Linked DNA regions of Homo sapiens: regions 1 and 2 are each linked to region 3. Evidence: promoter capture Hi-C in 16 types of primary human blood cells and fetal thymus (Javierre and others, 2016). All regions are on one chromosome and are shown on one strand. Each heading gives the region's core, a stretch centred on a gene start or on the middle of the fragment in contact. The rest is flanking DNA. Distances are from core to core; before and after follow the strand shown.

Region 1 (3,338 bases), core at 72-2,571, 200 kb before region 3:
TGTTGTTTTATGTCACTAAGTTTTAATAACCAATTAGTTATTCAATGACAGATAATAGATAGCTACCCCTCCTCTGAATGAATATAATTAAATACAACAGAGATAAATGTGGGGGAGACTGCCTTGATTCAAATGATCAGTGGTCTAGAAATGTGAGAAGGTAAACTATTTAGACAAGAGATAGCCAACAAACTGGGGATTGTGACTGATCACAGGTATGGAAGATATTAAGATATCAACCCAAAAACCATCATCCCCATATGTTTTTTGCTAGCAGAACCCTGAGTTTGTGTAAAAGTGGTCAAGTGCTTTAGGGAATGCAAAGTCCCTCCAGACTCCAAGAGGTGAAACTTGATTAACTTAAGTCAGTCATGGTAGTTCCTTTACCTTCATTTTTGACTGGTTTAGGAACAGGCATGTGAAACAATTATGGCAAAAAAAAAAAAAAAACAAGTGAGAGCAAGTGTTTTGGAAGTACATGGGAACCGTTTTCTTTCATCTTAAAAAGGGTGTCTAAAAGAAAACAGTCTCCATTATTTCTGTGTTTGCATGTTTTGTGAGAATGAGATTCTTAGAAAAGCAGCAATCAATTGTGAGGAAACAAACCTGAGGACAGAAACCAATATCCACATCAAAGAATAAAGAAATGTTAGGTGTTTGTTTGAATAATTAGGCAATAGTTTCTGTAACCTAAATGTGAGATGTGGGTATTTTGATTTGCTTCTTTCTCTTGCACATTGGGAATTGAAATGAGAGGGTGTTTTGACTAATTTTTCTAACTAATGTTTTGCCTCCTATGCTTGCAATTAATTTACCTTTCAGTATTGTTTGGTCTTTTAAAAACTGGTTAGAAACTTGTAAGAACATTACAACTCTATCTCCTTTTCTGAAAATAAATGTGAACAATCGATTCTACATTCTTGATACAAGAAATGTTACAGTGAACGCTGGAATCTCAAAAAGACTTCTCTCTCTGGAGCAATGCAATTAGATTTTCCAGTGATTAAATGGGTCATCGCCGATAAGAAGTTATTGCTCAGGGCATAAGATTGTACTTCATTCCATCAAAGTGATGCTCAAGTTCAGAAAGCCGCACAGAAAGCACCCTTAGACAAACACAGACGTGGGAAAGGAATAAACTTGTGAGGCTCCATCAGTTTCCCCATTTGGCTCTTCAGCCCCCTTGCGAAACTGTCTGACCTCGGGCATCTGCGGAAACGCAGACGCTGAGGAAGCACCGACAGAGGAGCGCTTGGGATCTCTGCGGGCCCAGCCCAGACCAGTAACCTGCAGCCAATGACTGACGTCCCAATCCCTAGTCTGGGGACTGGGGGCTGGGGCGGCGCCACGCTGCTTTCCCGGGAGCCAGAAGACTCTGCTGGACCACCGAGCTCACGTGCAGAAAAGCTCGAGGCCCAGCCTCTGCCCCTGTGACAGGCGCCCAGGGAAAGAAGAGAGCCCTGGCTTCCTCAGGGGTCGGGGGATGGGGATGGTAAGGACGCCGCGCCGGGGTCCCTCTTCTGTTGGGGGTGGACGTGCCAGCAGGTCAGGCTGTTTTCCTGAGAGGACGGAAAGGGAAGGCTCGCTCCTGTCTCCTCAATCCCAGGGCCCCGCGGAACCCCCCTTCTGCGCTGGAACTTGGCCTCTTCTCTGCAGTGTCTCCCCCCCACGTCTCAGGCCGAGTTTATGCCTTCTTAGAGATCGACTTCTGTCGCTATGGCCCTTTCAAATCCTAGAAAGCAGCCTGCGGAGAGAGAACCGCGCGCTGAAGTGCAAGTGGCCACGCGCCTCCCGGCGGGCGCCAGCAGCTGCCTCAGGACGGCCGGCAGAGCTAGGCGGCTGCGTCCGTGGGCACCCCACCCCCGCCGGGCACCACCGCCCCGCGCTCGCGCCCTGCACCCTACCTGGTGCCTCACACCCCTCGGGGAGCGCTGCTAACTTGTCGGGGACAATGCGCAGTGAACCGGCCTTAGGGTTCCGAAGCTCGCACAGTGGGAGGAAGGCGACGAGGGGAAGGAAGGCAGATGCCCTCTGTGACTGTACCAAGCTGGTATTGGACTCCCTAGGCAAGAAGCCTTTTAAAATAATTTCATTAAATGCTTTTTTACTGATGATAATGACATCAATAATAATAAAAGAGATCCTGGCGCTCACATTCGTCTGTAAGAGTTTGGTAGCCCCTCTCTTGGTATGACCATCATTCATGCTTTCCATGAACACACAATGAGCACTCACTGTGCGGCAGCTCTGCTCGTGCTTGACTAGGATCATCCTAGCCCCTCCCAGGCCTCTCAAATATGAACTTCCCCCGTGTTTTCAGGAGCACTGCAAGGTAACTGTTACGTAGTTTTCAAAAAGTCTGGAGAGCCTGGTGACCATGACAAAGAAAGGCACAGTCATACATAGGAAAAGGATGTCTAATTTACTTGCATTGTTCCAGGCTCCATGCCAGAGTCAGGCCTAGGTTTTGATCCTCTGGAGAAAATGTACCAAAGTCGATGGTTTGAGGGACGTCAGTCACTGCCTTCTGGAAGACTAGGAAGACTGGAAAGATTATTTTTCTCATGCTTAACTGTTTACCTTTTTTTTTGTTAAGACAGGATCTCCCTGTGTTGCCCAGGCGGAACTCAAACTCCTCCGCTCAAGCGATTCTCCTGCCTCAGCCTCCCAACAGCTGCGAGTGCCATCGTGCCCTATTACTTTTGTTTAAAAAGGTTTGAATATTTAAAATCAGTTCCATTTAGTCAAAGAGTTACAATTATAGTTCAACTAAACCTGCAGTCAATGTAAGTATTCATACCCTAAGAAAAAGCACCACAAAATGATGTCTGTGATTGTTAACGGTTGATTGGTTTCCTGTGTCCATAGTGGACAATATTATGAAGCATAGACAGAGAAACATGTTTACTAAGAAGCTTTTTTTTCCTTCCAGGAAATTCTGTAGGTGAAAATGTTGAAATTGTCAGTTGAAATATCTGGTGAAGTCTAACATTAACATTAAATAAAAAGCAAGTGACAGGAGAGTACTGATGTATATTCCTCTTGGGAGATTAACTCTTTCTCTGCTAGTCCCCCCCTCACACCCCCACCCCTGAATTTGCCCACAGCCATAGCAGGGCCGTCAGTGTTTCGGGATGCCAGGCAGACGTAATTCGGCTTCAGAGCGCCTTGCTTAAGCAAAAGGCTGTGTGTACGTTCCCCAGGAGTCCGAGGACGGGCAGGCTGGCAAAGGCTGGCCCTGGTCACCGCTGGGAGAGGACGCCCCCGGGCTGGCTGCTGTTGCTGCTGGGGCTACTCCTCCCCGCCCCGGTCCTCCTCCAGCTTCTCAGCCGCAGCCG
Region 2 (3,562 bases), core at 269-2,768, 220 kb before region 3:
TTGCATTGTCTTGTCTTGTCTGCCACTTGGTAATTAATTAACTCCTAGATAGCTGCACAAATCCAAGCTTAGTAAAGTCTTTGGAGAAAATATATTAGTTTTTTATTATATGAATATATATAAATGATATAGATCGATAAATAAATATAGATACTCAGCTTTTAATAAGTGCAGAATTCTCTACCGGGCACTATATACGTGTTTGGTGTGAAATCTTTTTATGTGTTTAGTATTATTAGCATTAGTTTATTCATTTTGCCCGAGTTTGTGAACACAATCAAGAGACACATATATGAGACATTCTGATCACATACTAGAAGTTAATTTCCACTTAAAAGGGTCATATTACTGCTGTAGAGAGAAATGATCTTGCAGTTGGGTTTCTTTTAAAATGTGGTTGATTGATAATACTGAAGGGAAAGATGTCTGAGAAAGAAGTTAGTTGAACCGCAAGGAAATATCCAAAATATACATCAGTCTCATAAAATTTAACAGGAAAGTTAAATTCTCCCTCTGCATATATGAGCAGCTCAAACTTCTGAAATATTACTACAGAAATAACAATAGGGAAGAATTCCAGATCTTCTTCCCTTTATGTATATTAACTTCTGGGTTTGCATAACACAAGTAGCTCCCACCCCTACCCCATAAGACCTGTGAAAACTCAAGTGATAAGCACTGCATTCCAACTGAGTCCAAGGAGAGCAGAAAGAAAAATGGGAGAAGAGTATTTGCCTATGACACCCTACCCTAATCGTTTATAGAAGTCTTAGATAAAACCATTTCAATATTCTGTTACCTTGTACTGAACATTCATGTAAAATGAATCGTGAAAAAAAGAGAGAATAGACCTCCTGGGTTCTCTTGGTGGGTATGTTGTCTTAAATAACTTCCTTCTAACTTCAGAGCCTTTCTCTCTCTCATCACCCCTTTTGAAAGAGGGAGTTTTCAGAGTCTGCCGCAGAATGACTCAGCTCAATGCAAAGCCACATAAGCTTTTTTCTTAAAATGAGGGGGCAGTATTTTCCTCCATCTTACTATGAAATTGAAACCCACTGAAGTTAGCTAGTATTAGGAGGATAGCAGCCATCCCTATTTATTTCTTCCTCTTTCCAAGCTTTAAGCAGCATACGTTTAATATATACTTTTTTTCAGTTATCCTAACTGACATATTCTCCAGACTCTGAGATCCAAATCATGCCAAGAGTATCAAATACATTTAACAAGTGACTGCCTCCTCTTCATGTAACTCTAAGGTGGTCAAGAGTTCAAACTTCTCCAAGCTGGGGAAGTCAGGGTTCAAAATCACCCATGCCTTCTCACCTCCAGAAAAAAAAAATGTTTATTTTGACATCTGTTACCATATGATGTTTATAAGCTCAATTGGCTGAAAGGAAAACACAAGGACCGCTATTCCAGTTGCTTTTGTACTATTTGGGACTACCTAAGAAAGGGTGTTCTCTGTAGAAATGGCTGGCTTCTAAAGGTTAGTGGCCCGCCAAATTCTATAGTGGCAGATTTGAGAGTTCTCCACTATGTGGCTTTTATTATACTTCTCTTTTTACTGGAAGAAGTTGACAAGAGAATGTAATATAATGTGATGCAAGGAACAAACTATTTTAGGATAATTTGAATACTATACCTACAAAATAAACAGAATTAACTTACAGAGGACGATGATACTTTAAAGTGATTCATTGTTTTGAATAAACTTCATTCTGTGTTATTCATGAAGTGTTTCCTAATTCACATACTTGTATTGATTTCTCTAAACCTATTTCTAAAGGGATGAGATTGAGCAGGCAATTCAGGAAGACAGCATGTTAGAATATTTCACAGCATTCATTATTTTGATGTTAAATGTGTCTTTAGGAGAAATTACAGACAATTGTCAAAGAAAAAAAGCCATGGAAGCTTTGTGTGTGAAAAGGAAGTCTCCAAAACCTCAACTATTCTAGCACCTCCTAGACTTCTTTCCACAGGAAGTGTTCTTCAGTGTTCAAGGGTAGGTTTAAAAATGTTTTTCTGTTTAGTTACTGCACCTTAATTTGCATAAATCCGCTCTTGGCTTTGAAGGGATCAAATAAATCTGAGAAGAAACTGGGATACATCCCAGATTCAACTTAAGTAGGCAAGGGGAAATGAATAAATGCCACTTAAATGGAAGGGTCTCAGTACCTGCCAACTGACCAGCTGTAAGTACCGTAATACTTCTAAAATGCTGTAGAAATGCACTGCTCTCCTGGAAAGCCAGTGGAGAAGAAATGTCCATGGACTTTGTAAAAGCATTCCAGGTTTGAGTTATACTCTGTGGAACTCATGATGTAATTACTGTAACAACAACTTAAGGCTCCTTTTTTATTTTTTATTTTTATTTATTTATTTTGAGACAGGGTCTCACTTGTCACCCAGGCTGGCATGCAGTGGTAACATTACGGCTCACTGGAACCTTGACCTCCTGGGCTCAAGTGATCCTCTTGCCTCAGCATCCTGAGTAGCTAAGACTACAGGCATGTACCGCCGCACCTGGCTAATTATTTTTTTGTTGTAGAGACAGAGGTCTCACTATGTTGCCCAGGCTGGTCTCGAACTCCTAGCCTCAAGTGATCCTCCTACCTCGGCCTCCCAAAGTGCTGGGATTACAGGTGTGAGCTACCGCGCCTAATTTTTTTTATTTTAATTGAGTAAATAATGGTCTGTTTGAATATGCAACAGAAAAAGGATGGCCCCATTAAGTTCATAGAGCCTACTTTTTCCCCTGCCATTGTGAGCCAGATTGCTACTATCACTGTTATCGTTTATGGTTGATTTTAAGGAGGTAGTGGCGACCTCTCTCCTCTTTGCCTTGAAATACAGGGAATGTGAATTCCATTTTACATAGATCGAGCTATGTCTAGGGACTCGCTTCAAGACAGGAGGAGGAGGGCTGGACTTTTGCCCATCCACGCTTTTGGAATGGGTACCTTTCTCGTCGTGAGTCGGAGTCGCTGTGGTGGGGATGTCGAACCACTGAGCCAAGGAGTTAGAATACCACACTGTCAGCTCCTCCCCTGGCTGGACGTCTCGCAATGCTCGGTAGAAGATCTGGGACGCAAGGAATAGAACAGTTCAATGTCATTTCCTGGGTAATCGGTCAAAAAGCAACTGAGAAGAAAGGTTCAAATCCGGATTCTGATGCTGTGTGACCCTGGAGAAGCTACTGGAGCTCTCTGAACCTCACTTCCGTCATCCTTCAAACGGAAAAACAATAGTAACTACCTTAAAGGGTTGTCGAGACGTTTAAATGAGACGTCTAGCTAAAGTACTTTGCTCTTAATATTTTTGGCCACCGCAGGGACGGTTAGGTAGACTGAATTGGCGGTGGGGAGTGGGGGGGTGTGGAGAGAAGCCCGCAGTACCTGTCCTCCGGGTAAGTCTGCAATAGCTTCCAGAGTCTGTTCCTGGGAGTTTCTGGCTGCCCGGATTAACCCTATCCACTCCAGAGGGGAGCCCCCCGACTCGTCCACCAGCTCCCCTCTCACCATGCGCACCTGCAACACAAGCAGTGGTCGTTCTCCCCCGC
Region 3 (3,287 bases), core at 174-2,673:
AAATACAAGACGTGCTACATTTTCTTTTGTGCAGAGCTTTCTGCCTTCATGTGGAGAGAGGATCATGTATCTAAGGGTAGAGGAGCTCTGAAGAGGACATAGCAACTGAAAAGTGCGACCACCCTTAGGAGGAGGTCAATATTTTAGCTAAGAACCATGAATGAAAGACTATTGCTGTCTGGGTGAGGTGGCTCCCACCTGTAATCCCAGCACTTTGGGAGGCTGAGGCAGGCAGATCACCTGAGGTCAGGAGCTTGAGACCAGCCTGGCCAACATGGTGAAACCCTGACTGAAAATACAAAAATTAAGCCGGGAATGGCAGCATACACCTGTAATCCCAGCTACTTACGAGGCTGAGGCACGAAGAATCACCCGAGCCTGGGGGACGGAGGTTGCAATGAGCTGAGATCCTACCACTGCACTCCAGCCTGAGCAACCGAGTGAGGCTGTCTCAAAAAAAAAAGAAAAAAAAAGATTCCTGAGCGGTAAATTTCGCTAACTGAAAGAACCCTTTACCAATTTGACCCTACCTGTTGAAAATACAGAATAATTTTTTGTCTTCAATGTTGGAGATTCGTCATTGTTCTTACCCAAAGAAAGACTTTGTGCATTTAGACGTAAAATGTTACTGATCACTGTTCCTAGCTCTAAATGAAGTTTGCCTAGACTGAGCCACAGAAGCCTCCTACTACATGATGTATATACCCTGTACAAGATAATAGTCATTTGCAGAAAATAAGTTTTACATTTGGCCTTCTGGCCATCTGATATTTGAGTGCCTTGAAAGGGGAAACAATTCTTCCCTTGAGGAAGAAGTGCTCCCATACTCTTGCATTCTTAGCAGTAGGGTCAATGTCTTACAGGAATATAAAAGTCCTTGAAGAGACATCTGTTAAGTGTGAAATAGAGCTACATGGCAATAAAAGAAGACACAGCACGAAGTAATGGCCTGATTGAGGTCAACTTCGAACATGAGGTTTGAGGTGTCCTATAGCAATAAAGTATCTTCAAAGTTGTTTATGATAGTAAAAACATCTTGCAGTTTAATTCCATGTGCAATTTGCTAAATGAGCGTGAAAGTATAGCCATACATACATAACACTCAACAATACAATCATGAAAGTCGGCTGCAGGCCGGGCGCGGTGGCTCACGCCTGTAATCCCAGCCCTTTGGGAGGCCAAGGCGGGCGGATAACCTGAGGTCAGGAGTTCGAGACCAGCCAACATGGAGAATCGCTTGAACCCGGGCGGCGGAGATTGCAGTGATCCCAGAATCCGAGATGGGGACTGTACTCCAGCCTGGGCAACAGAACAGACTCTGCTAAAAAAAAAAAAAAAAAAAAAAGTCGGCTGCAGACGGCGAAAGTGATCTCGGAACCTTTATGTTGGGGATCTTTTTTCGGGAGGGACCGGAAAAGAGGTGGGATCGTTTGTCGCGATGTGGAGTGGCCGTAAGCTGGGCTCCTCCGGGGGTTGGTTTTTAAGAGTGCTGGGGCCTGGAGGCTGTAATACAAAAGCTGCGCGTCCCTTAATTTCCTCGGCGGGTGAGTGTGTGTGCGGAGGTCCTTCGCATGCAGTCAATTGCGAGCGCTGGCGTCTCTGCGCATGCGCCGGGGGTGGGGCGGTGGGTTGTCTCTGGACCTCGCGAGGGGTCAGCGCGAAACCTAAGGCTTGGTCCTGGCCCCATCTCTCTCCATTGTAAACCTCGCATAGTCCCGTTGGCGGACGCCGGGGAAAAGAGCTCAGGACCAGTGGTCCTGTCTGGAAAAGCGCAGGCCGCGGGTCTCTTGTGGCTGAGCTCCTTGCCCCAGGAGCCGGCGACCCGCTCTGCGTGTGCTGCAGTCTGAAGGTCATGCATCTTTCCTTTGCCGGGGCAGGAATAACTCACGCCTCGTAGTTATGCATAGCTTTGTATCTGTGTTTTGTTTGCACAAAGCTTGCTGTTTTTTTCAGAAAGAATTTAAGGCAGCTGTATTACTTTTTGATTAATAGGTTAATCCAACAGACTGCATTTGCAAATGAGATCAAGAAAATAATGCACTGCTCAGTGCTTGTAGACAGCAGTCTGATTTTCGAACTCTCAGTATTAAGTAGAAACTTAAGCTCATCTTTCACATGGAACTCTTAACAAATACTGTATGCCAGACACTGGTATGAGCACTGGGAATTTAAAAATGAATGACACCGCAAGGATCTCTTTAAAAATGTTAGGATAAACCTAAGATCAGGATATAATGAACAAAAAAATGGGGAATCTAACCGCCCATTAATAAAGGTTATTAGTTGGTACTATCATACAGTGAAAAATAGTACAGCCAATAAAAATGATTTAAATCTATTTGTACCCACATGGAAAAGTAGTAAGATATAGTGTTAAGAAAGTAAAGTTTCATTGTTTCCTGGAAGGAGCCAAAAAAAAAAAAAAGTTACAAATCAGTATGTATAGTGAACTTGGAGTTACAGGTGGAGATATATAGAGAAATTTTGCAGTGATTGCCTGTGGTAGAGTAGGTGATTTTCTATCATTTTATCCTTTATATACTTTTCTTTTTCTGAACTTTTTTTAGTAAACATGTGTCTTTTATAATCAAAAATTTAGAAAAGATATAATAAACCTAGTTCCAATTTTTGAGGGGTGAACATAGAAGGAGCATTTAATCCATATTTGGGATCAAGGAAACTTCTTGAATGGGATATTTAGAGAAATCTTGAAGGAGGTGGCCAGTTTTAGAAGCAGTTGGTCGAGACAGGCAGCTCACTTGAGGTCAAGTGTTCGAGACCAGCCTGGCCAACATGGTGAAACCCTATCTACTAAAAATACAAAATTAGCTGGGCGTGGCGGCAGGCGCCTGTAATCCCAGCTACTCGGGAGGCTGAGGCAGGAGAATCGCTTGAACCTGGGAGGCAGAGGTTGCAGTAAGCCAAGATCACACCATTGCACTCCAGCCTGAGCAACAGAGTGAGACTCTGTCTCAAAAAAAAAAAAAAGCAGTTGGAGAGGGGAAAGGACCAGCTCGAGAATCTGTGAGAAAGTTTGTGAGAAACTGCAAGGTTCCTTGAAAAGTAAAGTGTGTAGGTGGAGGGCAGAAGGTAAAGGCAGGGGGTGGCAAGGGATGAGGAAGAGGCCTTTTTGGCCATGACACATTCATGAAAGGCCATTTACACCTCCTGAGGTAGACTATCCCGCGGACAGTGGAAATCACTGAAGAAGCAACATGAACAGATTTATGTTTAAGAAATAACACTTGGCAGCTGTCTACATAGAATGTGGGATGGAGTCAGGCAAG

What was found. The method cuts DNA at HindIII sites, captures the fragments that hold promoters and counts their contacts. A CHiCAGO score of 5 or more calls a contact.
Region 1: a fragment that was not itself captured here is called in contact with the fragment with the promoter of COQ3 in region 3 in 4 of 17 cell types (M2 macrophages, total CD4 T cells, M0 macrophages and 1 more); the score reaches 6.7 in M2 macrophages.
Region 2: a contact is called between a fragment that was not itself captured here and the fragment with the promoter of COQ3 in region 3, in 1 of 17 cell types (total B cells). The highest score is 5.3, in total B cells.

The regions. Positions count from the first base shown.
Region 1 is chr6:99,589,450-99,592,787 of GRCh38, reverse strand. No RefSeq gene overlaps it. Among named protein-coding and RNA genes, the nearest start is that of PRDM13, 16 kb to the left of the region's middle. The HindIII fragment of the contact is 3,193 bases long and covers 1-2,917 here.
Region 2 is chr6:99,608,709-99,612,270 of GRCh38, reverse strand. PRDM13 (PR/SET domain 13) reads right to left here. Exons shown (of 4, transcript NM_021620.4): 2 at 3,399-3,530; 3 at 2,964-3,084. Among named protein-coding and RNA genes, the nearest start is that of PRDM13, 3.7 kb to the right of the region's middle. The HindIII fragment of the contact is 797 bases long and covers 1,120-1,916 here.
Region 3 is chr6:99,392,331-99,395,617 of GRCh38, reverse strand. It overlaps COQ3 (coenzyme Q3, methyltransferase), which reads left to right and starts at 1,423. Exons shown (of 7, transcript NM_017421.4): 1 at 1,423-1,544. The coding sequence starts at 1,439. RefSeq lists an enhancer at 1,528-2,167. The HindIII fragment of the contact is 4,880 bases long and covers 1-1,938 here.